6 separate regions of the Homo sapiens genome follow, and regions 1, 2, 3, 4 and 5 are each linked to region 6. Evidence: promoter capture Hi-C in 16 types of primary human blood cells and fetal thymus (Javierre and others, 2016). All regions are on one chromosome and are shown on one strand. Each heading gives the region's core, a stretch centred on a gene start or on the middle of the fragment in contact. The rest is flanking DNA. Distances are from core to core; before and after follow the strand shown. Region 1 overlaps LOC124901351 (a long non-coding RNA gene). Region 2 overlaps PHIP (PHIP subunit of CUL4-Ring ligase complex). Region 3 has its middle 9.1 kb from the start of MAP3K7. Region 4 has its middle 3.2 kb from the start of BCKDHB. Region 5 has its middle 5.2 kb from the start of PHIP. Region 6 holds the start of SNX14 (sorting nexin 14).

The links. Contacts are between HindIII fragments. The CHiCAGO score rates a contact against its expected background, and 5 or more counts as called.
Region 1: a contact is called between a fragment that was not itself captured here and the fragment with the promoter of SNX14 in region 6, in 1 of 17 cell types (fetal thymus). The highest score is 7.3, in fetal thymus.
Region 2: a contact is called between a fragment that was not itself captured here and the fragment with the promoter of SNX14 in region 6, in 4 of 17 cell types (total CD8 T cells, total B cells, total CD4 T cells and 1 more). The highest score is 8.0, in total CD8 T cells.
Region 3: a contact is called between a fragment that was not itself captured here and the fragment with the promoter of SNX14 in region 6, in 1 of 17 cell types (total CD4 T cells). The highest score is 6.5, in total CD4 T cells.
Region 4: a fragment that was not itself captured here is called in contact with the fragment with the promoter of SNX14 in region 6 in 1 of 17 cell types (non-activated CD4 T cells); the score reaches 5.3 in non-activated CD4 T cells.
Region 5: a fragment that was not itself captured here is called in contact with the fragment with the promoter of SNX14 in region 6 in 10 of 17 cell types (naive B cells, total CD4 T cells, activated CD4 T cells and 7 more); the score reaches 17.0 in naive B cells.

The regions. Positions count from the first base shown.
Region 1 is chr6:79,952,429-79,957,310 of GRCh38, reverse strand. The region is part of intron 1 of LOC124901351 (a long non-coding RNA gene); the gene reads right to left. It also overlaps the pseudogene GAPDHP63. Among named protein-coding and RNA genes, the nearest start is that of ELOVL4, 7.3 kb to the right of the region's middle. The HindIII fragment of the contact is 263 bases long and covers 1,943-2,205 here.
Region 2 is chr6:79,060,337-79,065,405 of GRCh38, reverse strand. PHIP (PHIP subunit of CUL4-Ring ligase complex) reads left to right here. Exons shown (of 40, transcript NM_017934.7): 5 at 4,588-4,738; 6 at 4,830-4,928. All of the region lies in intron 1 of LOC124901346 (a long non-coding RNA gene), which reads right to left. Among named protein-coding and RNA genes, the nearest start is that of PHIP, 15 kb to the left of the region's middle. The HindIII fragment of the contact is 218 bases long and covers 2,723-2,940 here.
Region 3 is chr6:90,593,810-90,598,462 of GRCh38, reverse strand. No RefSeq gene overlaps it. Among named protein-coding and RNA genes, the nearest start is that of MAP3K7, 9.1 kb to the right of the region's middle. RefSeq lists an enhancer at 607-1,172. The HindIII fragment of the contact is 3,979 bases long and covers 1,384-4,653 here.
Region 4 is chr6:80,101,057-80,105,881 of GRCh38, reverse strand. No RefSeq gene overlaps it. Among named protein-coding and RNA genes, the nearest start is that of BCKDHB, 3.2 kb to the left of the region's middle. The HindIII fragment of the contact is 3,199 bases long and covers 1,940-4,825 here.
Region 5 is chr6:79,081,061-79,085,779 of GRCh38, reverse strand. No RefSeq gene overlaps it. Among named protein-coding and RNA genes, the nearest start is that of PHIP, 5.2 kb to the right of the region's middle. The HindIII fragment of the contact is 1,520 bases long and covers 2,590-4,109 here.
Region 6 is chr6:85,590,611-85,595,410 of GRCh38, reverse strand. SNX14 (sorting nexin 14) reads left to right here and starts at 1,553. Exons shown (of 29, transcript NM_153816.6): 1 at 1,553-1,832. The coding sequence starts at 1,693. RefSeq lists enhancers at 1,261-1,380, 1,691-1,860, 1,309-1,892, 1,893-2,476, 2,477-3,062 and a silencer at 1,411-1,630. The HindIII fragment of the contact is 2,215 bases long and covers 76-2,290 here.

The DNA.
Region 1 (4,882 bases), core at 825-3,324, 5.6 Mb after region 6:
GATATCCAGGACCTGAACTCAGCTCTGCACCAAGTGGACCTAATAGACATCTATGGAACTCTCCACCCCAAATCAACAGAATATACATTCTTCTCAGCACCACATCACACTTATTCCAAAATTGACCACATAGTTGGAAGTAAAGCGCTCCTCAGCAAATGTAAAAGAACAGAAATTATAACAAACTGTCTCTCAGACCACAGTGCAATCAAACTAGAAATCAGCATTAAGAAACTCACTCAAAACTACGCAACTACATGGAAACTGAACAACCTGCTCCTGAATGACTACTGGGTACATAACAAAATGAAGGCAGAAATAAAGATGTTCTTTGAAACCAATGAGAACAAAGACACAACATACCAGAATCTCTGGGACACATTTAAAGCAGTGTGGAGAGGGAAATTTATAGCACTAAATGCCCACAAAAGACAGCAGGAAAGATCTAAAATTAACACCCTAACATCACAATTAAAAGAACTAGAGAAGCAAGAGCAAACACATTCAAAAGCTAGCAGAAGGCAAGAAATAACTAAGATCAGAGCAGAACTGAAGGAGATAGAGACACAAAAACCCTTCAAAAAATCAATGAATCCAGGAGCTGGTTTTTTGAAAAGATCAACAAAATTGATAGACTGCTAGCAAGACTAATAAAGAAGAAATGAGAGAAGAATCAAATAGATGCAATAAAAAATGATAAAGGGGATATCACCACCAATCCCACAGAAATACAAACTACCATCAGAGAATACTATAAACACCTCTATGCAAATAAACTAGAAAATCTAGAAGAAATGGATAAATTCCTCGACATATACACTCTCCCAAGGCTAAACCAGGAGGAAGTTGAATCTCTGAATAGACCAATAACAGGAGCTGAAATTGAGGCAATAATTTATAGCTTACCAACCAAAAAAAGTCCAGGATCAGATGGATTCACAGCCAAATTCTACCAGAGGTACAAGGAGGAGCTGTTACCATTCCTTCTGAAACTATTCCAATCAATAGAAAAAGAGGGAATCCTTCGTAACTCATTTTATGAGGCCAGCATCATCCTGATACCAAAGCCTGGCAGAGACACAACAAAAAAAGAGAATTTTAGACCAATATCCCTGATGAACATCGACGCAAAAATCCTCAATAAAATACTGGCAAACCGAATCCAGCAGCACATCAAAAAGCTTATGCACCATGATCAAGTGGGCTTCATCCCTGGGATGCAAGGCTGGTTCAACATACGCATGTCAATAAACGTAATCCAATATATAAACAGAACCAAAGACAAAAACCACATGATTATCTCAATAGATGCAGAAAAGGCCTTTGACAAAACTCAACAGCCCTTCATGCTAAAAACTCTCAATAAATTAGTTTGGATACTTTCTGTTGCTGTTGTTGAGACAGGGCCTCACTAGGTGCCCAGGCTGATCTCAAACTTCCAGCCTCAATTGATCCTCCTGCCTCTGCCTCCCAAAACGTTGGGATTACAGGTGTGAACAACTGTGCTTGACCTTAAAATTTTTTATAGATATTTCATTGTTATTGATTTCCCATTTAATCCCCTTGTGGTCAAGTTCTATATTATTTCCTATTTGAAATTTATTAAGAGTTATTTAACAGCCCATAAAATTATAGATCTTTGTGATTGTTTCATGCCCATGAATTTGGCCTCCACCAGGTCAAATGATTTACAGTGTAATACATCTCTTCTATATTATAATTTATCTTTGCCTATTTATTATATTAATTATATAATAGGGGTATTAAATTCTATAACAATAATCTTGAATTTGTCTAATTTTTTTCTTAGTCTGTCAAATATTGCTTTATGTATCTTAAAGGTCTGTTATTACGTGCTTACCTTTTACTGGCTCTTTTATCTCTACTAACTTTGGTCTGTCCACATCCTGACATCCTTTAAGGAAGTGAAAAATAAAAAGCTTCTATTTTGCTTTAGGCACTTTTCTTTTGGGTTTTTCTGTAATATGTAATCATATCTAATGCTAAATGATACAAATACTATGACAAAAAAGTACAAGACACCGTGAACATGTGTGTAACGGGGATCTAACCTTGTTATTGGAGTCAGAGTTTTCCTAGGTCATACATTTAAGGTAAAGTGGGTATTAGCTCTAGTCAGAGGTTGTGAAAGAGTATTCCAAGAGGGAGAAAGTTATGTGCAAAAGCCCTGAGTCAAGGGAAGCTTGGCTCTTTGGAGAAACAGAAGGAGGTCCTGATTAGCTTCCCTGTATACTAAAAGCAGAAGTGGTAAAGGAATGATAGGCATTCTAGATCACACTTTCATTAGGCAAGAAGAAAGATTTACAATGTTCTAAGCTTCTAGATGTGGAGGCTTTGGAGCTTCCTGAGAGTACTAGAAATATTAAGAGATTTTAAGATGAGAAATGCCATCATCTGACATGCAATTTTAAAAGATACTCAAAGTACTGTGTGAGAATAAATTGTAGGAGGAAATAAATGGATGCAGAGAGATCAGTTAAGGGGTGATTGAGGCCAGGCACAGTTACTCACGCCTATAATCCCAGCACTTTGGGAGGCCAAGGCAGGCGAATTACGAAGTCAAGAGTTCGAGACCAGCCTGACCAACATGGTGAAACCCCATCTCTACTAAAAATACAAAAATTAGCCGGGCATGGTGGTGAGTGCCTGTAATCCCAGCTACTCAAGAGGCTGAGACAGGAGAATCACTTGAACCTGGGAGGCGGAGGTCGCAGTGAGCCAAGATCATGCCACTGCACTCCAGTCTGGGTGACAGAGCAAGACTGTCTCAAAAAAAAAAAAAAAAAAATGAGGTGATTGAAGTTTGAAGTGTTTAAGGTGGGAGAGAAATGATGGAATTTTCGGTTAAATTATATGCAGTAGAGCTGAGGGAAGTGGAAAAAATCAAGATATATTTTGCAAGCAGAATTAATAGGAGGTGGTCATGAATTGGATGTGTGTTGGAAGGGAGAATATTATAAAATGTCATTGATCACTTTTGGCATGTGTGGAAATAGGGAAATATGAAAGAAGAACAGATTGTGGGAGGGGGGGAGATAGGTTTTTAACATGTTGATTTTCAAGATGCCTGAGTTACATTAAAGAGAACCACACAAGCTATGAGATACATGAGCTGGAAAGAAGATCTAGGTTGAACACATATATCTGAGAGTTATGAATGCAGATGGTAACCAACGCTATGAGAGTGCATGAAATAATTTAGGCAGGGCTCTCTGCTCCTCCTGTTTGACAGACAGCTGCATCTTCTCTTGCATTGCCAACCACATCCCTGAGACACCATGGGGAAAGTGAAGGTTGGAGTCAATGGATTTGGTTGTATTGGGCGCCTGGTCATCAGGGCTGCTTGTAATTCTGGTAAAGTAGATATTATCGCCATCAATGACCCATTCATTGACCTCAGCTACATGGTCTACATGTTCCAGTATGATCCCACCCATGGTAAATTCCATGGCACCGTCAAGGCTGAGAACGGGAAGCTTGTCATCAATGGAAATCCCATCACTATCTTCCAGGAGCCAGATCCCTCCAAAATCAAGTGGGGTGATGCTGGCACTGAGTATGTCATGGAGTCCACTGGCATCTTCACCACCATGGAGAATGCTGGGGCTCACTTGCAGTGGGGAGCCAAAAGGGTCATCATCTCTGCCCCCTCTGCTGATCCCCCCATGTTCACGATGGGTGTGAACCATGAGAAGTATGACAACAGCCTCAAGATCATCAGCAATGCCACCTGAACCACCAACTGCCTAGCGCCCCTGGCCAAAGTCATCACTGACAACTTTGGTATCGTGGAAGGACTCATGACCACAGTCCACGCCATCACTGCCACCCAGAAGACTGTGAATGGCCCCTCCAGGAAACTGTGGCGTGACAGCCACAGGGCTCTCCAGAACATCATCCCTGCCACTACTGGGCTGCCAAGGCTGTGAGGAAGGTCATCCCTGAGCTGAATGGTAAGCTCACTGGCATGGCCCTCCGTGTCCCCACTGCCAACGTGTCAGTGGTGGACCTCACCTACCATCTGGAAAAACCTGCCAAATATGATGACATCAAGAAGGTGGTGAAGCAGGCATCAGAGGGCCCCCTCAAAGGCATCCTGGGCTACACTGGGCACCAGGTGGTCTCCTCCGACTTCAACAGTGACACCCACTCTTCCACCTTCAATGCTGGGGCTGGCACTGCCCTCAACGACCACTTTGTCAAGCTCATTTCCTGGTATGACAATGAATTTGGCTACAACAACAGGGTGGTGGACCTCATGGCCCACATGGCCTCCAAGGAGTAAGACCCCTGGACCACCAGCCTCAGCGAGAGCACAGGAGGAAGAAAGAGGCCCTCACTGTTGGGGAGTCCCTGGCACACTCATTCCCCACCACACTGAATCTTCCCTCCTCACACATTCCATGCACACCCCTTGAAGAGGGAGGGGCCTAGGGAGCCCCATGTTGTCGTGTACCATCAATAAAGTCCCCTGTGCTCAGCCAAAAATAATAACAATCATAATAGTTTAGGCAGAAAGGATAACATAAGTAAAAAAAAAAACTTGTAAAGCAGCCAGAAATAATTGAATTTTAACATTCACAGGCCACAAAAAGAGGAGAAACCGACAAGGATGAGAAAGAGGGAACAGATATATAAGTGATGTTACAGAAGTCAATGTTTTCCCTCAGTTGTTATTCACATTTGCTTTTGTGTATAGTGTGTATGGATTCTTCAGGTTCAAGACAGTTTCTCCAAGATCAGAGGGGGGTCATTTATCTTTGTATGGTTCACAGGCAGGTGAGTCCTACTGCAAAGTTGCTGAGTCCATAAAATTATGGTTCATTTACTGGAAAGTTTTTAAGCATTTATTCACATATAA
Region 2 (5,069 bases), core at 1,582-4,081, 6.5 Mb after region 6:
AAAGGGACTGGGAATGTGCCAGGTGAAGCTAGAAAAATAAGAAGTGACCATACATGCATTTCTGGGCTGATAGACCAAGTTAAGGATTTGGATCTTTATCCAAAGAGTGAGGAAAGCATCAGAAGTGTTTTAAGTAGGGGTGACTTGATCCAATATGTATTTTGGAAAGAACATTCTAATTGCAGTATAGAGAATAGATTTGAATGGGGCATGAGTGCATATGGGAAAGGTATGCATTTATTGCAAAGATTATTTGGACTGTTATGGAGATACAGGTAGATGGATTTAAAAATAGGAAGGAAAAATTAAGTTGAACTTGGTGACTGCTTGGATATTGGGAATATGATGGGAAGGAGGAAGGAATGAACTGTGTGCAAAATGCAGCTCCTTGGTTTCTGGCTTCCAAGGTTGGATAAATGGGGTTGACATCCACCCAGGTAGGGAACACTTTAGTGGGGAATGTTTTCATGAGGATCCATCAATTCAGTTTTGCATATGTTGAGTTTCAGATGCTTTGGGGCTCTAGAGAGCTGTTTTAAGAAAGTTTGCTATGCAAGTCTATGCTATAAATAGAAATTTGGCAATCATTGTTATAACAATTGTCCAAAGAGAGAGTATATAGTGAGAAGAAAAGAGGATCTGGAACTGGACTCTGGTACCTAGGATCTTAAGGAACTTCACTATTTAATGGCTATATAGAGGAGTATAAGCCTAAAAGAAAAATGAGAAGGAATGGTTGGAGAGGAAGAAAGCAAGCCAAGGAGTGTCACAAAAGTTAAGAGAAGATAGTTTGCAAATGAGGAAGTGTTCAACAGTTAGGTGAAATATTATGGGACATTAAATAAGGTATAGATTTAAAAATGCTTATTGGAGTTATTGATAATTGAAGGTGAACTTTTGATAAGAGCTATTTTTTGTAAAGTCATGAGTGTGGGAGCTAGTGTGGAGTAGATTGAGGAGAGGATGGGATACGAAATTAGATGGACTATGGACCATTCTTTTAAAAACATGTTTCCGGAGAGGAAGAGAACGGGAAAGGGGTAGCCAGGATATTTGGGTGGGGAGGTGTTGGATAATAGCAGTTAGGCAGGATTTTTGTTTTTTCCTAAAGTGGATGCAAAATGAGCATGTTTACATGTAGATGGGAAGGAGTTGGTTGAGAGGAAGTTAGTGTACATACTAGAATGTGGAGGTCTAATTTATAGTGTAGGATTTCCGTGCAGTCAGAGAAGTTAGGATTCAAAGCATAAGTAGAGGGATTGGATCTTAAATATTTATTAAGAGGGACAGTTGTGTTAATAAGAGACAGAATTGGTACAGGTGTAGATAGGTTTACAGATTTGATAGGGAAGAAACAAAGCTTCAGCTTTAAAAAAGGTTCTCCTGTAAAGTAGGTTAGGTCATCTGCTGAGAAAATGAGGGGTGGGGAAGAGGATTCTTGGGAAAGAGAGGATAATAGCATTGTTTGTTAGTCTGTTTCCACTGTTCTTTCCAGAGACCCTTTCATGGTGGTACCTCAGGGACTGCTAAGAGGAAGCAAGTAGAGAGTCAAGCATTGAGATATGTGTTCCCTGATGCCACTTAAGTAAGATACTTTCTGAGTACCTTTACTTTAATCTGTTTTGTCTAAAATTTGTTTGAAGACATGTTCTAAGGCTTTCTTTAAAAAGTGTTTTAAAACTGTTAGAATTGGCCGGACGCTGTGGCTCATGCCTGTAATCCCAGCACTTGGGAGGCCTAGGGGGCGAATTACTTGAGGTCAGAAGTTCGAGACCAGCCTGGTCAACATGGCAAAACCCCGTCTCTACTAAAAATACAAAAATTAGCCAGGTTAGGTGGTGGGGCGCCTGTAATTCCAGCTACTCGGGAGGCGAGGCAGGAGAATCACTTGAACCTGGGAGGCGGAGGTTGCAGTGAGCCGAGATCCCGCCATTGTACTCCGTCCTGGGTGACAGAGGGAGACTCCGTCTCAAAACAAACAAACTCACCCCAAAACTATTAGAATAAAGAATTATACCATGTAAAAAAATTTTACTGCATCTATTTTTATGTGCTGGGATAGGTGCTAACAAAATGTTTTGGGTTTTTTGAGAGTGGGGAAGTCAGTCGTTTCTGCATATTCTTAAATCTTCATATATCCAACTAGAACTTTATTAAGCACTTAACTATAAGTACTGCATTAGGTATTGGGTAGACAGAGGTAAACATGGCCCAATCTCTCCTTATGCAGGACACAGACAAGTAAACTGGCAATTTTAGTATAGTGCATGAGTCTTATGAACCCCCAAAACAGGGCACATAATGGTAGGGCTTGTGTATTTTTGCAGGGAAGAAGATCGTAGCTGTCATTAGATTCTTAAAAGTCTAAGTATCAAAATATATTAAGAACAATTAATATGGTAAGTACTACACAGTGCTAGAGGGATGAAGGGACATTCGAGGAGTATAATGTGCTGTGGGAACACAAAGTGTCCAAAAAGGGGCACAGGTGGTGTAAATAGGTCATGGAAGGCAGTGAGTGAGACATAGACTGAGACATGAAGGAGAATGAGGTGTAGAGGTGAGCAGGTAAGACAAGATTGCCAGCAGAGGCATCAGCTTGTATAAAGTCTCAAAAGCCAGAGAAAGCACAAGGAATTTAAGAACTGGAAGTATCTCTTCTAACTTTAAAATGAAAGTTGATTTTGAAAAATTCAAACATTCTAAATCACCAAAGAAAGCTTGAGTCAGAGTGGATTCATAATATTTTATTGAAAGATAGAATATTACAGTAAGGATTTTCAGTTTCACTACCTGAAAATATATTTTGCCAGAGGATACTAAAACAGGATCATCACACATCTGAAGTTAATAAGTAATGAACTTCCATCTTCTTTAAAGTAAAATTTTTAAAAGGAATTTTGATCAATTAAGTCACATTAAAATAATCATTTGCAAGCTTAGAACTGGAAGCAACCTTACAAGTATTCTAGACTTCTAAATTTTATTTTTGAGTAAATTATTTTGGGGAAGATTAAAGAAAAGTATACGATTTTAAAAACTCATTTTGGTAAGTTTTCTTTTAAATGCTTTTTAATTTAGCTAATCATACTAGTGTTTCCTAAAGTATGTTCTGAGTGAATATGATAGATATTATTAGGGAAAAAAGGGATTCTGTAGCTAAATGAGTTTGGGAAATAATCTCAGGATTTTTCAGAGACTTCAATGTCAGTGTGCTTTTTGACTGCAAAACAAGGAGGTAATATGTATAATTCATATGATACAAACTGTATTAGAACTCCTTTTTCCAAAAATACTCATTTTACTGGCTTATCACCTACTGTATGCCAAACTGCTGTTTTAAATAATCTTACCAAAGATTATTTGGTGGCAGTATGGCTCCATGTTATCTTTGTGAAAGAAGGAGTGTATTTTGATAAAGAGTAAGGTAGGTTTCTCCTATTGGCTTCAGTTTAGATGGGTATTAGCTACCTTTAAAAACATATCATTCATGGATTTCTGCAGTTAAGAGTATAGCAGATATTGCAAGATGGAATGAGATGATTTAAATCCTCACCTCCCCCCACATCAGTCTTATCAAAAGGAATTCATGTTAAAGTTGCCATTACTTGGTAAACTTGAGGAACAATTTTCAAATTTCTTGGTCTTAGGACCCCTTTACACTTACTAAAATGTATTGAAGTTCCTTTATTTGTGTAGCTTATAATCTATTGGTATTTACCATATTAGAAACTTAGCATTTAACATATTGGAGACCTATTAAATAATACTAATAAACTAATCTTATTTTAATATAAGTAACATTTTTATAATAATTATTCCCAAACAAAACAAATTTGTGAGAAGCGTGGCATTGTTTTACATTTCTGTGAATCTTTAATATCTGGCTTAATAGAGGAGACATTTTCCTATCTGCTTCTGCATTCAGTCTGTTAAGACATCACATGTTATGTGTCCTGTGGAAACCTCCACCGTGCATTCATGAGAAAAAGTGAAAAACAACTAATATAGTGTTATTCATAAGTTTTATCTGAGGGACCTCCAGGGGTTCCCAAAACATACTTTGAGAATAGCTGAACTAGATACTACTGTGGAAATTTTTTTCTAACTTGATAGCTAATTATGAAGTAATACAATAGTATTTTTTTCCAATATAATTTTATTTAGATAGTGAATATTGTTTATTTACTGAAAGACTAATAAAAATATTAGCATTTCATGTCATGGTTTCAAATGCCGGTATAAATTAAGCAGTATTTTGAAGTTGTTCCAAAAGTGCTCAAACTTTTTATAGTGGGTAGCTTTATTTTATGATTGAAAGATATTTAAAGCAGCAGTTGGAATTTTGCCTTTCTCTCTGTAAGGTTTTTGGTAAATTATGAAATTCAGCATAGATGTTAAGTGTTCTTAAATTTTTTAATAACAAACTATCAGTTCTTAATTCTTAATTATTCTGGAGATTTACTTTACATCAAAGACGCAAAACAAAATATTTTATACTTGGATGAATTTTTTTATTGTTGCTCAAAGATTTTGAAAATTAAAATGATAAACTGAAACCTACTATATTTGTCTTTTACATAATAGGTGAAGTATTACAGACACTTAGCACCTGATCACTTGCTGCAAATATGTCATCGACTAGGACCTCTTCTTGAACAAGAAATTCCTCAAAGTGTTCCTGGAGTACAAACTTTATTAGGAGCTGGAAGACAGTCTTTACTACGCACAAATAAAAGTATGAAAATTTTCTCATAGGATTTAGACATTATTTATCTCACTTTTGTTTTTGTGTTCTTTGTATGCATAAAAATACATGTGTTTAATAGGCTGCAAGCATGTTGTGTGGAAAGGATCTGCTCTGGCTGCGTTGCACTGTGGAAGACCACCTGAGTCACCAGTTAACTATGGTAGCCCACCCAGCATTGGTGAGTTGTTTGAGTTCACTAGTAGTTAATAGCCTCTTGGTAAAGAGCTTTTGAAAATGAAAAGGTTTTTTAGTTACTGTGGTATTAGAGAACTTCATATTATGTACATCTGCATTCAAAAAGAAAAAAATAGATTTTTTT
Region 3 (4,653 bases), core at 2,124-4,623, 5.0 Mb before region 6:
CCTGTGACATAGAAACTAATGCTGCCATATCAGAGACTTACTGATCAGAATCTATAGAATGGTGACTAACTATTGTTGTTGCATCATGTTGTTTATTTCTGTTCCTCTATATAGTATTTCATTCATGTTAACATTTTTGAAAACCACATATTTTCTAGGCTCTGTACTACATACTTTCACATACTGTTTCATACACACTAAAATATTTAGAAATGGATTGACATTTTAATATTTAACAAAACTGATATGATTCAAATTCCGATTAACAACTAAAACAAAATATTTTAATATTGATAGGAATATAGCATAGCTCACTTAGCTCAATACTTAGAGTTAGCATGGTTAGTCAGCCTTCAAATATTAAAAGTTTATCAGATTATTTCTTCATTTAACAATTCAAGCTAAAGCATGAGTTTAATAATCTGTGCTTAGATTGTCTTCTGCACTTCAGATAGAAAATTCCATTAAGAAATAGTTGTCATAATTCCACTTCCTGAATTTCTTCTAATACTTCTAATATTTCTTCGGATATCTAAGCACTAAATATCGATTTCCCAAACTTGTCAAGTGTAATAGAACAAGTGAATATTTTAGATTCAACTAAAACACCATTTGGGGACACTTTTCCCATTAGACAATTTCCCTTAACTTTCTGAATGCCTCTGGGCATAATTAAAAGACCCTGTTACTTTTCCTGTATCATGTGTTAAAGTTTAAGTGTGTTACATAATTGAATTGATTAACAATTTTTAGAAGATTAATTAGCATCCCAACAGAAATTTAACAGAACTTTTCATTAATACCTTAATCTTGATAGTACTGACTTCCCTCTCAGAGCACTTTGAATTCCCAGAGATGGCTTTTAAATATGGAGCCTCTATTTACTTAATAGAGCTTTGTGCCACTGAGAGTAGCTCTGTGCGGTGCTGGGGAACTCGGAGGAAGATGTGAAATGGGTTGCTAACGAACAAGAATGCAAAGTAGACCCTCTCAGCCTCACAGGTTTCAAGCACTACAATATCCCTTACCCTGATTATAGCTTCAGCAGAGTGGAGTGGTTTGTTTGTTGAAATAATGAAGAGTGGATGGCATCCATTTTAGTGGAAAGTTTTAATTTGTGATTTCCTGAGGCTGTGTGAAATGAAATACCCTTATTTATTCCCATAAATGAAACCAAATTGCTTCTGCAGTTTCTTCTGAGAAAGATCATCTAAGAACATCGATGTGACATATTAGTCTATGACATAAAACATTCAGTGAATGCACTTTTGTAGTGAAGAGCACTATTTCCATGAAGATAATTTTTTTGCTGACTCATGTTCTTATCTGATTAAGTTTCTGCCATGAAAAACCGATGCTGAAGTATATCATGATGATAAAGCTTAGCTCGGAAGCTCAGAAAATAAAACTCTGTCTATTCTCTCTATTTTTACATATTTTTTGATTAAAATATCAGTTATTTCTGAAAGTAATCATTAGTGCCATAATAACACCTTATTAACTTTCAACAAGCAAACTATTCAAATGAATTAAATAGGTATTTGGAAAGAACTAAAGTTTACCCTTGGAAAATCCAGGGGAAAAAAGTATCCTAAAACTTAGTAACATGAAGATTGGAGAGATATTTAAACTGACCAGGAGAATGAAGAATTTTCAAAACCCTCAAATACTCGAGAAATCTTCATTACAAATAGTTGGTATGCCAATTATATATCAATTTATTTATTAAATCTTCCCCCAGTTATAGAAAACATTTGGTTAACCCAATCCTTACACCTGAAATAAAGTAAACAGCATTTATTTAGAAATGTAGATACTCATTTACTTTCTAAAAAGTTATTAAGTGTCTACTAAACACTTACAATTCTCACCCCAGTTCAGCTAACATCCAATGGGCAGGGTCTGGTAAGGGGTAGGAGGACAGAAAATAAACAAGAGAGAAAATAATTAAAAAGATGATGTTGATAGGTAAAGGGCTAGAAATAAAACTTAGTAATAGATAGAAGTGAAGGGAGAGGGAGCCAAAGGGAGGACCATATCACTATCTCTGAGGTGCTGTTTGAGCTGAGACCTACCTGATAAGGTACAGACATCTGTGGAAAATTTAGGAAATAGCAAATCCAAGCTGGGAACATCTTACCTATAAATCACGAGTAGTACACAGGAACAGAAATCTAGCACTTACAAAAGCAGACATTCTCCTAACATCTGTGGGGCTCAGGGTAAGAGTACAAATGGAGGCTCACATATTATATGCCTAAATATTTATAAGCAGTAAATCAAGGTAAACTGGTAAATAAAATATATTCCATCCTCCTACCTTGACAATATTCCCTTTCACTAGAATGTAGTGGTATAAGCAAAGCTAGCCTCCAACTCCTGATTTATACCCCTGTCCTCCTACTCTGGGCTCAATCTACACTGCAAGGGGCCTTTACACACCCACATGTGGGCTCCCAAGCCTGCCCATCTGAGCCCATTCACACACACATACGCATACACAGATACACTTTGGCTAGCCCTCCGGAGGACAGACCCAGAGGAGAAACTTGTACACGTAGCTTTGGGGCTGTCTGGGGGCTATTTCAGGGGCTTGAGTACCTAGAGCTCTCATCCCATGACAAACATGGTATAAAAGGAGATTTTAAAGTGTGTGGCTCAGAGCAGAGACCCCTCTTACTGGGGCTAGTGGAAAGAGTATACATAAAAAAATCACCAGCACACTTTTTTCCCCTCAACAAATCTCCCCAATCCAGCCTCTCTTTTCTTTCCAATTTTGTACCAGTTAGCAACTAAGCTATGATGGGACAATAGTCTCCTATTATCTGTGATGGAGAACTGTTTTGCCCATTATCACCACACCAAGAAGGAAAAAAGGAAAACTAACAATTACTTCATATTTAATTTCTATGAACCAGTCACTTTTAATCTGCACCAAAACCTTTGATGTAGGTATTAGATAAACTAAAGTTGAAATTTTAAGTAATTTATTCAAGATATGTGGCAGAATCAAGATAAGAACTCTATCAGAATTCTAAAACCTGTGCTTTGAAGATAAAGCACAGAAATCCTAACTACAATTAGTTTACCACCCCTCTCTAAAGCATAAGCAAACTTGAAGCATTTTAAGATTACCAAAGAAATAGAATAGCTTTTGCATGAAGATACCCTAAAAACACTAAATTTAAATAATGTTCACGGATGTTCATCTCAGTGATATTTAAAGGGGGGAGGGGGGAGTGTTAAAAACAACCTCAATGTCCAACAGCAGACAGTTAGATGAATGACTCACAGACATCCTGACGTCTCAGTTCCTGCCCTTCTCAGTTCCCTCCTTTTCTCCCAATCGTATCTCAGATTGAATGTTGCCCTTACCTGAAACTGCACCACCTTTGAAATCACAAATTCAAAAGTCTCACTCTCTAAACACAACCCCAGATCCACCCAGTTTGCCCAGGAAACGTTCACCACACCTGTTCTTCAATCACATGGCAAACCTCCACCCTAGTGACCCTTCTACCTTCTCCCAAACTATCATACCCTCCCATCATCTCTTTATCCTCTCTTCAGGTTAGCTCCCATGGCCCATCATTCAGCTATACTCTTGCCAAAGCCCTAAACTCCCTCGCCGCAATGTGGGTTTAATTTATACTGTTCTGTATTTTGCCTTCCCTTAACAATCAAATTTCTCAAAAAGTTGTCCACATTACTGTCCTCATTTCTCTCACCTCTCACTCAGTCCAACTCATCTAGTTTCTGTTCCCACCTTGGAAACTGCCCTAGTCAAGGTTATGGGTGACCTCTGAGTTCCTAGACCCAACAGACCCTTTTCAAGATTTTCTCATGTTTAACTTCTTTTTTTTTTTTTTTTTTTGTGGAGATGGAGTCTCACTCTGTTGCCCAGGCTGGAGTGCAGTGACGCGATCTCGGCTCACTGCAAGCTCCGCCTCCTGGGTTCCCGCCATTCTCCTGCCTCAGCCTCCCAAGTAGCTGGGACTACAGACGCCCGCCACCACGCCCAGCTAATTTTTTGTGTTTTTAGTAGAGACGGCGTTTCACCGTGTTAGCCAGGATGGTCTCGCTCTCCTGACCTCGTGATCTGCCCGTCTCGGCCTCCCAAAGTGCTGGGATTACAGGCGTGAGCCACCGCGCCCGGCCATGTTTAACTTCTTGTAAGTATTCAACACAAACATCCTTTTCATGTTGGTTTCTACAATATCATAGTTTTTTTAAATTATTTTCCACAACTTTCTTTGGTAGTTACTCCAGCTCTACCCACTCCTTAACCATTTTATTCCTTACAGCTCTTTCTTAAGTCCTAGTCTCACTTTACATATCTTTCAATTTCCATGAATTTAATTATTAATATCATCAGTAGATCAGCATCTGTTTCTCTAGCTTTGTCTTTTCCCGGAAGATCAGCTGCCTACTTGATCATAATACTCTCTGGAACCTCTAGCTCAACATGTTTAAAACTTATTTCTTCATTCTCCTCTTCCCTAACCTTGTTCCCGCTCTTCTTCTTGCCTCTTGCAAAAGGCACCCTTTCTACAATGAATTGCACAAATGAAAAATCTGGAAATCCTCCTCTATATTGCCCTTTCCTTTACCTCCTTCCCCACTTCCAGTGTCAGTCAATAACTCCCACCAATC
Region 4 (4,825 bases), core at 2,290-4,789, 5.5 Mb after region 6:
AAAAAAAAAAAAAAGCACATAAAACATGAAATATCATAAAATCAAATATGACAAGAGACAACAGAGACAGTGTGTCCATCAGATGAAAATGGGAGGGTGGGGAAGGATGGTCCCAAAACAGAATTTGAAGAAGAAAGTGGGAGTGGAGGAAAAGAACATTCCTCTTCCATTATGCCTTGCCTCTTAACCCATCTTTGGTTTTGCACAGGGGCAAGGGAGGAGAGGGTAGAAATGGGGCAAAAGGAGAGGCAGAGAAATGTGTTTTCTGACTGAGATTAAGAAACAGCAATTGAAAACTGCCAAAGGGAGAACCAGAATTATGTCTCCATTTTTCCTACCCCCACACTAAGTCCAAAAATTCAACATTGGGGAAATTTTTTATCTTGGCTTTTGTTAGTGTTCATTTCTGCTGTTTTAATAGTGTGGGGTAGAGTGTTTTGCATGTGCATGAAGGGTATTTTTGTTTTAATGAAGGAAGGGGTAACAAAATGAAATTACATTTACATAGTCAAATTTGGGTTTAAACTAAGGAGAGTAAAGAACAAGGATAAAAATGAATAGAGCTTTTTTTCTATTTGTTGATAGTTTAGGGAGCTGGGGGTACTGAGATTATTTAGGTCGGGGAGAAAAAGAGAAAAATAATAACTGATGAGAATTTTATTGAACCTCTGCTACGTACAACCCAATGACAAGCCACCATTGAGACAAATAAGATCAAGGCATAGTTTTACTTCTAAAATGTCCAAGGTGGTAGAGAAAAGAGACAGATTAGGCAACTACAATCCAATGTGATAGGAGTCCTAGAATAGTGCAAACAAAGTGAAACACAAAAAGAGCAATAAACTCTTATTTGAAAGTCAAGTGTTTCCAGATATAACTCTGAGCTAGACCTAAAAGATGACTAGAAGTTACCAGGCAGACTAGGGAGAAAATGGCATTCCAAACTAAGAAGAAACCTGTATAAAGGCTGATAGGCATGAAGAGCACAGTGCATTCCAGGAAGAGAAAATAGCTTGGTGCTTCTAGATTCAGGGTGTAGGGAATGATACAGGGTTAACAGAAAAAGTAGGAAAAACAGATTAAAGGGAGATTTTGAAGGTCTAAGAGGTTTGAACTTTCAACTACATGCAGCCAGGAAAAACAAACAGAGCACCTGCCAGATTCACCTGTTTTGCAAACTGATTTTTTAAATTTTCCCCATCTCTACCACACCATTTGCCTGGTAACCATGAAAATGTCTATGTTATTACAGTGGGACTTTCCTCCATTCCCCTTGCCCTGGCCACATTTACTCAATTTGGGAAACTGTCCTTTTCTGGGAATTTTGGAAGTGTAGTTTAGAAAGAAAGATCAGATTATCTTTAAATGCCACTAGGAACTGCAAAAAATGGGAGTTTTCAGTAATTTCGTGAACCAGAAAAGGTGAAGAGTGTGATTATATTTGAGTTCCTGATTCCATTTATTCCCAAGGCCTAACTGCTTTCTGGTCCTGGGGTTCTATGAGACATCACCGTATCCTTAAAATGTATTCCCCTCTTTGTTTAAGCTATTTCCAATTGCAGAACCCATGACTATGGAGTTGGAATACAAAGCAAAGTTGCTCTTCACCCTTCAGAATGACTCTTGCATCACTTGCTCTCACTGAGCTTCACTACCTGTGCAACTTGTACCTGTTTAGTCTCAGCTTGCTTTTAGACGACCATTTTATATAGCAAGATGATAGTTTTGCAGTATTACATCCTGGCATCTGCCTCCTTTCAAACTCAAACAGAGGTATCATGGAGGCAGAAAAAAAAGAAATCAAATTATTGCTTTTGAATTTTAAAATAGATTTTAAACTTGATAGCAGAGACAATAATTTGAGAGAAAAGTTTGAATTCTACAGACTGGTTTCTGAGTATTAAACCTCAAAAACCTGAATGAGTTAGGAAACAAAGCTTAGGGCTAAAAGAAAAGATTGTAAATCACATACCAGTATAAGAGATGGTTTGTCTCACCTTCCATGGAGGTACAGCTATAGATTAGAAAGACCTGTAGGTATCCTCCTTTGTAGATGAACCTAGAAAAGTATCACTAAATCCTCAGGCTACCCAGCATGTCATGGCATTTGAAACAGCAGGATGCTTCTCCCATGTGGCCAAGAGAGATGCAGCTATGGCAACAAGATCCAGGGAACTTGAGGAGACCCAGCAATCAGAATGATAAGGACTTGTGTCTAGAATATACTGATTGAAAGTCTTAAACGCAACAATAGAAAAGAAAAATTACCCAATTAGAAAATGGGCAAAGAATTCTCATTCATTGATTGTGGCAATGCAAAATGGTATAGCCACTTTGCAACACAGTTTAGTTTTTTATAAAACTAACATATTCTCACCATGAAATCCAGCAGTAGTGCTGCTTGGTATTTGCCCAAATAAGCTAAAAATGTATGTCCACATTAAAACCTGTGCAGAATATTTACAGCAGCTTTATTCATAATTGCCCAAACTTGGAAGCAACCAAATAAACTTAATGGAATATTATTCAGCACTAAAAAGAAATATTAAGCTGGGTGTGGTGGCTCATGCCTGTAATCCCAGCACTTTGGGAGGCCGAGGCGGGCGGATCACCTGAGGTCAGGAATTTGAGACTAGCCTGGTCAACATGGTGAAACCCCGTCTCTACTAAAAATACAAAAATTAGCTGGGCGTGGTGGTGTGCACCTGTAGTCCCAGCTATTCAGGAGGCTGAGGCAGGAGAATCGCTTGAACCCAGAAGGCAGAGGTTGCAGTGGGCCCAGATCACGCAACTGTGCTCCAGCCTGGGCAACAGAGTGAGACTCTCAAAAAAAAGAAAAAAAAGAAAAAAAAATATTTAACCATCAGAAGACATGGAAGAAGTTTAAATTTATATGACTAAGTGAAAGAAGCCAATCTAAAAAGGCTACATACTATATGAATCCATCTATATGACATTCTGGAAAAGGCAAAATTATGGAGAGAATAAAAGAGATGAGGGGTTGCAAGGGTTGGGAGCAGGAAGGGATAAATGGAAAATCACAGAGGATTCTTAGGGTAGGAAAAATATTCTGTATGATATTATAATGGTGGACATATAAATATGTCATTATACATTCGTCCAAATGCATAGAACGTACACCACCAAGAGTGAACCCTAATGTAAACTATGGGCTTTGGTTGACAACTGTGTGTTAATGTAGGTTCCTTGATGGTGACAAATGTGCCACTGCAGTGCAAATGTTGATGATTAAGGAAGCTCTGTATTTGGGGAAAGCATATGGACATTCTCTGTACCCTCCTCTCAAATTTTTTGTGAACCTAACACTGCTCTAAAAAACATAGCCTATTTAAAGAAATGGACAAAGGATTTGAATGACATTTCTCCAAAGAAGATATGCAAGTGGCCAATGAACATAAGAAAAGATTCTCAACATCAATAGTCATTAAAGAAATACAAATCAAAACCACAATGAGATACCACTTCATATCCACTAGGATGATTAAAATAAAAAGAAATCTATAACATGTGTTGGTGAGGCTGTATAGCAACTGGAACCATTGTGCATCACTGGTGGGACTGTAAAATGATGCAGCTGCTATGGAAAACAGTTCCGCAAAATGTTAAACACAGTTATCTTTTTAATTTTGTTCTTCTATTTCTCTTCCTTTTTTGTTTTTTTAAACATAATTATCTTATGACCCAGCAATTCCACTCCTAAGTATATAACAAAGAAAAATGAAAAGGTGTATTCACCAAAGCTAGTACACAAATATTCGTAGCTGCACTATTCATAATAGCAAAAAAGTGGAAACAATCCAAATACCCATGAAATGATGAATGGTTAAACAAAACTGATATATCTGTAAATAGAATATTATCTGTCAATAAAGAGTAATTAAGTAGTGTTACATGGATGAACTTTGAAAACATTACGCTAAGTGAAAGAAGCCAGTTTAAAATACTATATATTATACAATTACATTTATAAAAAGTCCAGAATAGACAAATCAACAGAGACAGGAGGTAGGGAATGACTGCTAATGGATATAAAGTTTGTTTATTTATTTATTTATTTATTTATTTATTTATTTATTTTGAGACGGAGTCTCGCTCTGTCGCCCAGGCTGGAGTGCAGTGGCGGGATCTCGGCTCACTGCAAGCTCCGCCTCCCGGGTTCACGCCATTCTCCTGCCTCAGCCTCCCAAGTAGCTGGGACTACAGGCGCCCGCCACTACGCCCGGCTAATTTTTTGTATTTTTAGTAGAGACGGGGTTTCACCGTTTTAGCCGGGATGGTCTCGATCTCCTGACCTCGTGATCCGCCCGCCTCCGCCTCCCAAAGTGCTGGGATTACAGGCGTGAGCCACCGCGCCCGGCCTAAAGTTTATTTTTTGAGTGATGAAAATGTTCTAAAATTAAGTAATGTTGATGGTTGCACAACTTTGCTCTATGCTAAAAACCAGTGAATTGTACATTAAAAGGATGAATTTCATGATATGTAAATTATATATCAGTAGCACTATTATTTAAAAATTAAATTACAGAAAAATAAAGTTATATTTGCCCATCTAAATATGTTGATGAAGAGATTCATTCCCCCTACAGCATGTTTAACATCCAGTGTATTAGTTCACAGACTCTGTTCATATGAAATCGGTTTCAACTAAGGACTCGGGATAATGGAAAAGCTCCCTGATTTTCCTTACTTCACTGAATTACTAAGTGGAATGATCCTGTTGGAATCAAAAGAAAGTCCAGAATATACTCAAAGCCAATGTATTTGTTTCCTAGGGATGCTGTCACAAAGCAGCACAAACTGGTTG
Region 5 (4,719 bases), core at 2,100-4,599, 6.5 Mb after region 6:
ATTTACAAGGATAATGATGAGATTTACTTTAAAATATTCAAGTAAGAAAGGTTGGGGAGGATAGGTAAAACCAGAATGTCGAAATGTGGATAATTGTGAACACTGGGAATTGGAAATCTGGGGGTTATCCTTCTATTCTCCTTACTTTTTTGAATGTTTGACAATTTTTCCATAATAAAAAGGTTTGAAACATCGCTCCAAAGTTAATGACTTGATTTCTAGACTCCAAATATTACTGTGTTGAAGCATAAATATGTTAGGAAAAGAAAAACTAAACTTTTAATGAATGACAACATGTTTGTAACCTAAAAAAGCTAAAAGGAAAAAATCTGCACACTAAAAAATTTTTTGGAGTAAATGCAACTTGTGACTCTAGTTTGTAAGTTTCAATCTACTTGTGGCTAGAGGACTTGATTGAAACCTCTCTATGGTTAATAATATTGTATAAATAAAAATAATCTGTTATAAATTAACTGTTAATTTTAAAATATGAAAATAATACCCTCACTCAAAAAGTGTTTTGAAAAAAAATTCAAGAGTCTATCACACTCAAGTGATTACTTCACAAAGTTTTAGCATGTTGTTTTGCAGATGCTAAAAATAACTTGGTAGACTTTATTCCGGCTAGCATTGTAAAATATATACATTTTGTACTAAAAGCAATTAGGTTAAGATACAGAAACATAGTCTATATGAAATACTCATTGTTTCAAAAATGTGAATTCTTTGCAGTTAAATTTGAATGGTATATATAGCCATTGATTCATATCTCTTGCAATCCATTCAATAAATTGAGTTATTGCTGTTAAACAAAGTCAGATTTTAATAACTGAAAATTTCTGGAGACTAGCCAGATTATGCAACCTTTGTTTTCCAGATGTTGTGGTTAGAGGGGTCACTGCTGCTTCAGATTATCAGCCTCTAGTAAGCTGGGCATCTCCATGTGTTGAAACAAAGTACATAATGAGGGTCAAACTGCAAGTGTTTAAATGATGGTTCTTCAGCTGACACACAGAGAGAAAGGAATAACGCTGCAATGAGAATACTATAGTAGTAGGAATGACATATAAGGGCCAAGGACAGATGTTAGAGGTTGACTTTGGGTTTTTATGTCATCTTAAATAATTTTGCCCAGGAAAAAAAAAACACAGCTTCACAGCAATGCAGAACACCAGAACTTGTGACAGAAGTTCTTATTTTTTTCATCTTTTTTAACATTAAAAAAATTTCTATTAAAATATTATGAGTAGTAAAAAGGGAAAAGATCATAAAATAATAACAGGAAAAAAGTTGGGTGATTAACAGAGGAAATTACCTTTGTAATTACTATTCTAATAGAAGAATGCCTGTTAATAGGCTTTAGGGGAAAGTATCTTCACTATCGTGCCACGGAAATTTGCCATTGTGTGTTCAACACAAACTGATCTAAATTTTTTTAAGGTATAATACGATCTGGATCTAAAAATGAAAATGAAACAAGTTATCTAAATATCTCAAAGAAGTGAAGTTAAGCAATATTAACCATAGAGAGGTTTAAGTTTATGTAAGTCCTGAAAACTTTATGGAGTGTGAAAAATGCAAAAACTTTTTTTAAAATTTAGTAATTCCTCTAACTCAGTAAAATCTAACATCTGAAGAGGGCCACATTTACCTGGACTTCGGTAAAAATGTTGAAATAAGAAAAATTTGGCAACACAAAAATGCAAATACATACTGCACAAACAGCAAACGTTTGCCACTTAGCACTTCATTTCTTTCCTTATGGAAAAACAGAGGAAAGAAAGCAGGAAGAGGGAAGCAGGGAAGCAAGGCAGGAAGAAAGGAAGGAAGACAGGGAGGCAGGCTACATGTTTTTTCCTCCTTTTGACACCAATTCTTTAAATTGTTTTAGTCTTTTGTATAATAACCAGGAAACCTGAAAATAAGAGATGTTGAAGATTTTAATGTGTGACAGTCCCAATTATAAGAGGAAAGAATAGATTCATATTTATATTTTTAGAGTTCTTAGAATATATCCAAACTGAAAATATAACATGGGAATTGTTTCTCCAAATAATTACATATCTTATTTTCCGTATTTTACCTTTGGAAACTAACATTTCACTGATGGAAAAGAAGGAAACTTTTACAGAGACACAGAAAAAACTGAAAATGCCGGAATATCAGGGAAAGATGGAATTCTTACACAAGTACTTGCCAAAAAACCCAAAACACTGAATGACAAAAACAAGTGTAAAGTGTAACATGTACAAACTATAATAAGACAAAAAGACAATATACTTCTTCCTTCTCACATGATGCTACTTACCCAACATTTTTAAGAAAGATTTTCTCTAATGATGTCTTAGAGGCATTACTTCTGATACCTGTTAAGGGGAAATACCACATATATTCTTACCACAATATTCCATCTAAAGGCTATCATAGTTTGTCTATAAATCATTATCAGTTGGTAAATTTTGATGAGCATTTAAAAATCCACTCCAGCCATTTCGTCTGCACCTGTATTTTTAGGCACTCAAGTGTAAACATGAAAACTGTTAGTGTAACAAGATTTGTAGGTGTAATCTTAAAATCAAATTATAAGCTTTTCTTAAATTTTAGCACACACATCTTGGTTGAAAGATCTACCTGGTATCAATATTGTTTTAAATTTTTAACTATGATATAACTAATTTTTTTGTAATAGCTAGTCATTGTTTCAATAAACATGTATGAGAATATCTGTGAAAGAGAATAAAGCAACAGAGGCATAAGTCAGGGGGACCTTCGCAAGTACACACACATCCCCATATATGAAGAAAAACAAAAATAATATACAAATTAGATTGTATAATTAGGTCTCTTATAGGAATTCAGAAAATAGAGTATTTTTGGTTACAGTTAAATCTAAGTTGCTTTATTCTTAATTTTGAATTAGAACTTATATATGAGTCTCAAGTCAGACTTGTGAGTGCTCTGAATGTTCAGTCCTTATTCTTTCAAACACCTGTTCTTCTTTGTCATCAGTAGTGTCTACTTTGGTGTCCTTGATATCCATTATTTTTACTCTGTATAGATTCCTCACTATTTGTCAGATAAAACTTTCCCTTCCTTTTCTATAACTAAAATGCTTTTTCTTTGGGGTTCCTGAAGTTTATGGCTTTAGGCACATATAAAGGCAAGTGACTATGTAACTGTTTTTCTCAAATGCCATCTTAACATCGCATAGATAATAGTGTACTACCAGAGCCTCTGCACCCATTTTCTCCTCCCCTCCCCCACTTTACCTTCTCTTCTTTCACTGTTCTCTGTTCAACTCAGCCCACTCCCAGTCCATCAGACATCTTCCTATGATAGAACATGCCTACAGACTTCTCCTTTATGTTTCCTGCCATCTGGAACAGCTTTTTCTGCTTCATCCACTGTGTTGCTCCAAATCTTAGGGGAATATGTTCTAAAATTGTTTTTCTCCTTTAATCTTTGTAATTGTACTGTTAAAACTCATGAAGTGATCATTTAAAACAAACTATATAAATAAACCCATGAAGATGTGTATTTCTTGTGCAAATTAAGACTTATAAAAATACAAACTACTAGAATTATTTAACTTGGATAAAAAAGATTGAGTGAATTACTAACATTTAAATACATAAGGGATAACATGATTGTTGAGGACTAGCTATATTTGTTACACATTAAAAGGAAACGTGCTCTAATTTAAGTAAAAAGATTCCTCAGTGAGATATAAGGGAGAACTGTTAATGTTAAATAACAAAAACATTGTTAAATAATGGAATGGCTCACTTAAGTTGGTTATCTCTATTCTTTTTGGAGCAGCCAAATAGTATATCTGTTCATGTGCTTCAAATCTGATAAATATTCATGCTCTATGAAGAAGGATATGTGTGTGTGTGTGTGTGTGTGTGTAAGAGAGAGAGAAAGTCAGATAAGCATGGACAGAAACACACAATATTGGGGAGCAAGCCACAGTGAGGAGTGTGGCTTGTTAAATAAGATCCTTGACAGTTGTATTGTGTTCTTGGGGCAGATGAGTAGTTTTTTTTAAAGTACTTTTGAGAGAACAGTGTTTTCTACTTTTACATTTCTGTATTTCACAGGATAAAGCTTCTGCTATAGAAGAAATGTAACATCAAAACAAAAGCAAGATTTAACATGAAATTTTAAAAGTTGTACTTATAGAGATTTTTTGAGTTACGTATTATTCACCATACTACTGGAGATTAAATTTCATAAATGTATAATTTTTGTACTTATAAATACCATCCCATCTTGTTCCTGAAACAACTGAAATGATAGTATTTGATTATTTTATTGGAATAATAGCTTACAAGATCAAGACAAAATTTTTGTTAAATATTTATTTTGTTTCATGTGTTGCCACGTGAAAAGTGATGAATTTCACATAAACTTTTATATTTCAAGAAAAGTTTCTATATCTCCTAGAGAGACTATATTATGTAAAAACGTTAGGTCTTGGCTTTCCAAACTTTTACTATTATTTGTTAACCTTGTTATTTAAACTGCATGGAGATCTTTTTAAAGTGATATTTTATTTTTGGAAACCCATAAAAATGTTAAAATAAACAAACAGGAAAGGATATAGATGGAATCTGAACTATCCTTATATGCAAAAGAGTTGGCTGAACAAAAAATTGCAAGGATCATTGCTTTGGGAACTAAAATCTAGAACTTCCAAATAAGACTTTTCTTTCTATT
Region 6 (4,800 bases), core at 304-2,803:
GATACTTAAAAACTGCCAAAGTGAAATTAATAAATGTTTAAATATGTACCTAGAAATATTAAAAAATGGTAAGCTTTCCAATGATGTTACACTGTAGTCTTTTAAATGGTTTAGTCACAAACAGAAAAGTGTATTTGTGATGTTTAGACAATAATAGCTAATCGTGAGGATCAGTGAAATTGTTTACTTTTATACACCACTGTGGAGTTGGTACCACCATTCTACAAAGCAGTTTGACTGTATCAAGAATGTTTGTTTTTACCCTTTGACCCAGTAATTGTATTAAAGTTGATTCTAAATAATTAGAAATGTGCATAGGTTTATCATCAAGGATGGTAATATCAATGGACTTTAGTGGTTAGCAATAATGGAACAGGATGGTACATTCTGATAAAGGATAATAATGCATCATTAAAGATCCATGTTTTTGTAATACGGGAAAATATTCATGAAACTACATACATCATTAAAAAACATTTGTTTCCCCACTTTGAAGGATAAGATCCTAGGAAAGAGAGATGACAGGCACAGGCTCTGTCTTTAGAACGTGTTCAAATTCCGGCTTTGTTAGTTTTATGATCCTAAGTTCCTTTCTGTCTCAGTAATTTGCCTGTATAATGATTGAAACTATAGTACTGTACCTACACCATGGGGTGAATGCATGAAGGTCAAATGAAAGTGCTTAGTGTCTGTACCGCCTAAGTAAATTTTCGCGATAATAGTCTTCCTGCATCTCTCACTGTAGCGGACAATACAGAAAAAAAAATTTAGAAATGTGATGAATTAGTAAAGGGAAAACCCCATGAGACTCTATAAGAGGGATTTTACCTAATCTGCCAACCTGCCTCTTCCAAGCACTCGGATTTTGGTTGGGCTCCCGGAGCCGGCGTGAATTGAGCTCTACCCTTGCCCGTGAGCGCGCAAAAGAGATTTTGTTGGTGGGGTGGCGGCCTGATGAGTTGTAGTCTTTATTCTAGGGCTGTTTTACTCGCCACCCCCCCAGCCCCCAACACACCCCTTTTAAAATACCGACTCAAAGGCGTCCTCCTATCCCCCTCTCCCTTAGGCGTCACGCAAAGCTCGGACCTGCTCCCACCCGGAGCCGAGTGTACGGTGAGGCGCGGAGCGTTGCGGGGTCGGGGAAGCGCTACCACCCGCTCCATCCCTCTGCGGGTTCGTGTCACGAAGACTACAGTTCCCAGCGGGCTCCACGAGCTCCGGTTGCCCCTCAGGCAGCGCCCGGCGGCTACGGGGGTGCTGTAGTTTCTTCCGGGCTCCCTACAACCTTCTTCCCTCTCCTCCGCAATACAGGCAGTTACTGGGTGCTGGGGCTGTCCTTTGATTTCCGGAAATGGCCGGTCGCCAGTGTTGTCAGAGTTTCCACGGAAGACTGCGCGCTACTCCGGCCAGGAGGGCGGAGCGGCGAGACGCTAGAGGCTTTGCGCTGGGTGACGACTTCGGGCACGTTCTACGGCCGTTCCTCTGGTCGGCTGGGGACCGCGGCCGCGCACGCGCGGCGGGGGGCGTGGGGCTGGGCCCAGCCGGACGCGACCTCAGCCTGCGGCGGCTAACTGCCGGTAGGCGTCTGTGTGCGCCGCCAAGTCGGTGGGGCGGGGACGCGAGGTGTGGATGGGGGGTCGCCTTGACCTCTGCCTCAGCCAGTAGCGCAGTCTCGGCCTCGCCGTTACGGAGATGGTGCCCTGGGTGCGGACGATGGGGCAGAAGCTGAAGCAGCGGCTGCGACTGGACGTGGGACGCGAGATCTGCCGCCAGTACCCGCTGTTCTGCTTCCTGCTGCTCTGTCTCAGCGCCGCCTCCCTGCTTCTTAACAGGTAACGCCGCAGCGCGGAGCCTGGGCGGCGGCTTTTCTCCGAAGGTGCAGACGCCCGGCCCGTGCTGCTTAACCGTGCGGAGGCCGCGTAGCTGCGGGACTGGGGACCAGTGGGGAGAGCGAGCTCCGCAGAGGAGCGGCCTCGGGGAGCACGGCGGAGCGTCGAGGCCGGAAGCACAGGCCGGTGGGGTGGGGTTGATTGCCTCCTTTCCCGAGGCTTCGTCTCCTGAGCTACCTTTTTCTCATCCATTTCTCAAAACGAGTTCTTCATCTTCGTTGCTTTTCAAAAGTGAAATCCGTGTGTCGGCTCAAATTGAGACTGTACACAGGCAGTCAAGTCAGCTGACGGAGGAGTGTTCAAGGTCCAGTTCGTAGCCGCAATTTTAGGCAGAATCCGCACACCTGCAGCGCGTTCTTCCATCTCCCCACCTCCCACCCCCTCAGCTTGCAGCTGAAGCTTTTCCCGCAGTATTGTTGAATAAAACAGACGATCATAAAGATTTGTTGGACAGAAATCAGAAAGCAAAGTGGTACCCGTCCCAACATCCTTAGAATTTTTTATTTTTGAGACGGAGTCTCGCTCTGTCACCCAGGCTGGAGTGCAGTGGTGCGGTCTCGGCTCACCGCAAGCTCCTCCTCCCGGGTTCACGCCATTCTCCTGCCTCAGCCTCCCGAGTAGCTGGGGCTACAGGCGCCCGCCACCACGCCACCACGCTACCACGCTAATTTTTTTGTATTTTTTTTTTTTTTTTTTAGTAGAGACGGGGTTTCACCGTTTTAGCCAGGATGGTCTCGATCTCCTGACCTCGTGAGCCGCCTGCCTCGGCCTCCCGAAGTGCTGGGATTACAGGCGTGAGCCACCGCACCCGGCCACATCCCTATAATATTCTTAAGAGGACTTGATGCCACCCTCCCCAAAAAAACCTGAAATATTCCGAAAGGTTAAAATTGATAAATTCAATTGACATTTTGAAATCAGAAGATTCTGCCCCCGAAATAAACTTGTTTTACTTCATTTTACTATTTCAAGAAATTGTTGCGATGCAATAGGTAGTAGAGGAGACTTTTCCATTAAAATTAACACCAGATTTGCTTTTGGTGGAAAGAAATCTGAGATAGTTCTCATTGACAGCATCCGCAAGCTGTTTTCTCTGATGTTTTGAACAGGCAACCATTCTTACTCTTTATCTTAAGGTAGTTGATTCCCAAGGATAGCAACAGGGAGGAATGCGCAAGGAATTTGGTAACTTCATTTTTCTCTGGTGTAACCATTATTTGTGACTATGTTGAAGTTAGATTTCTTCCCTAAAAGTGGCCTTGCTTTCTTGTTGATTCTTGGTTTAAATATTATTGAGCTTAAATAGTAGTTGATGTTTTACTGAGAAGTGTGCTCTGTGATGGTGAGATGTTTGAACTGTAGGAGTGTGGGAGAAGTGGGATCCTTAACAGAGGGAACACTAATTATTATTTGCTTTCTGTCATCTGGAAGGTATTCCAAGCTAGACTAACAGGTTTAGTATGAAAGAAATGTAAGCTTCATATGATTTTTATTTTTATTTTTATTTTTGAGACGGAGTCTCACTCTCTTGCCCAGGCTGGAGTGCAGTGATGCGGTCTCGGCTCACTGCAACAGCCACCTTCCAGGTTCAAGTGATTCTCATGCCTCAGCCTGCAGAATAGCTGGGACTACAGGTGGGCACCACCATGCCCGGCTACTTTTTTTACATTTTTAATAGAGACGGGGGTTTCACCATGTTGGCCAGGCTGGTCTCGAACTCCTGATCTCAAGTGATCCACCTACCTCAGCCTCCCAAAGTGCTGGGATTACAGGCGTGAGCGACTGCACGCAGCCCATATGATTAACTTTTGTCCATGGATTCTTACCTACCTCTTTTGGGAACTGGGTCAGTTTAGGTTTCTAAGGTAGGAGAGCCATCTAGTAGGAGCAGGTTAAACTAGATTTCTGAGGTCATCTACTTATGGTCATAACATTTAGTGTTGTGTGTTATTAAAAAGTCATAGGATGCCATCTGATCTGTATACCATCTAACCTGTACCCTGTATTTCTTTTATGCAGAGAAGGTAGGAAATACAGGTAAATGTTACCTGAGTGGTTGGGTTTATGAGTGAAGCTGTTTTTGCATATGTTTTGGTGTTTTCCATTTGTTACTGCTGTAGTCAGCAAAAGTGATTTTAAACACTAGAACTGTCTTGAATAAAACCATGATTATGTATCCCTTTTCCAGGAAAAATCTTTTGGAAGGTGCCAGATGGTGTATGTAGCATGCTTTTCAGTGTATATGTGTGATTAAAAAAAAAAAAACTTATGTGTGTATTCACGTACACACACACACACACAGATGATAAGAGTATCTCTGAAATGTTGTTATACAAGAAAACATGGGCCCTTCTGAGATGGGGTATACTAGGTACATCTATTCTGAAATAAAAAATAATTTTATATGAAGTTGATCCTTGAACAGTGCAGAGATTAGGGCCACTGACCCCTATGAAGTCAGAAATCCGAGTGGAATACCATGGGATCCATACAAAGTACCACTAATGATACTGGGAGTACTCCCAAGAAGCAGAGAAAAGTAATGACATTACAGAAAAAGTGAAATGCTTGGTATGTACTATGGATTGAGGTTTGCAGCTGTGATTGCCTGCCATTTCAAGATAAATAAATTGAGTGTAAGGACCATTGTGAAAAAAGAAAAGGAAATTCATGAAGCTGTTGCTGCAGCTATGCCAGCAGGTGTGAAAACTTCGTACTTTTTGCAAAGTACCTTTTCATGTTTTATTGAAAATTTAGCTTTTATGTGGGGGCAGAATTGCTATGAGAAAGGCATACATATAAACTAATGCTATTCAAAAACAAGTGAAGTCATTGTATAACAGCTTAAAGCAGAAGGAAGGAGAAGGATCTAAAACTGGGTAATTTAATGCCAGCAAAGGATAGTTTGATA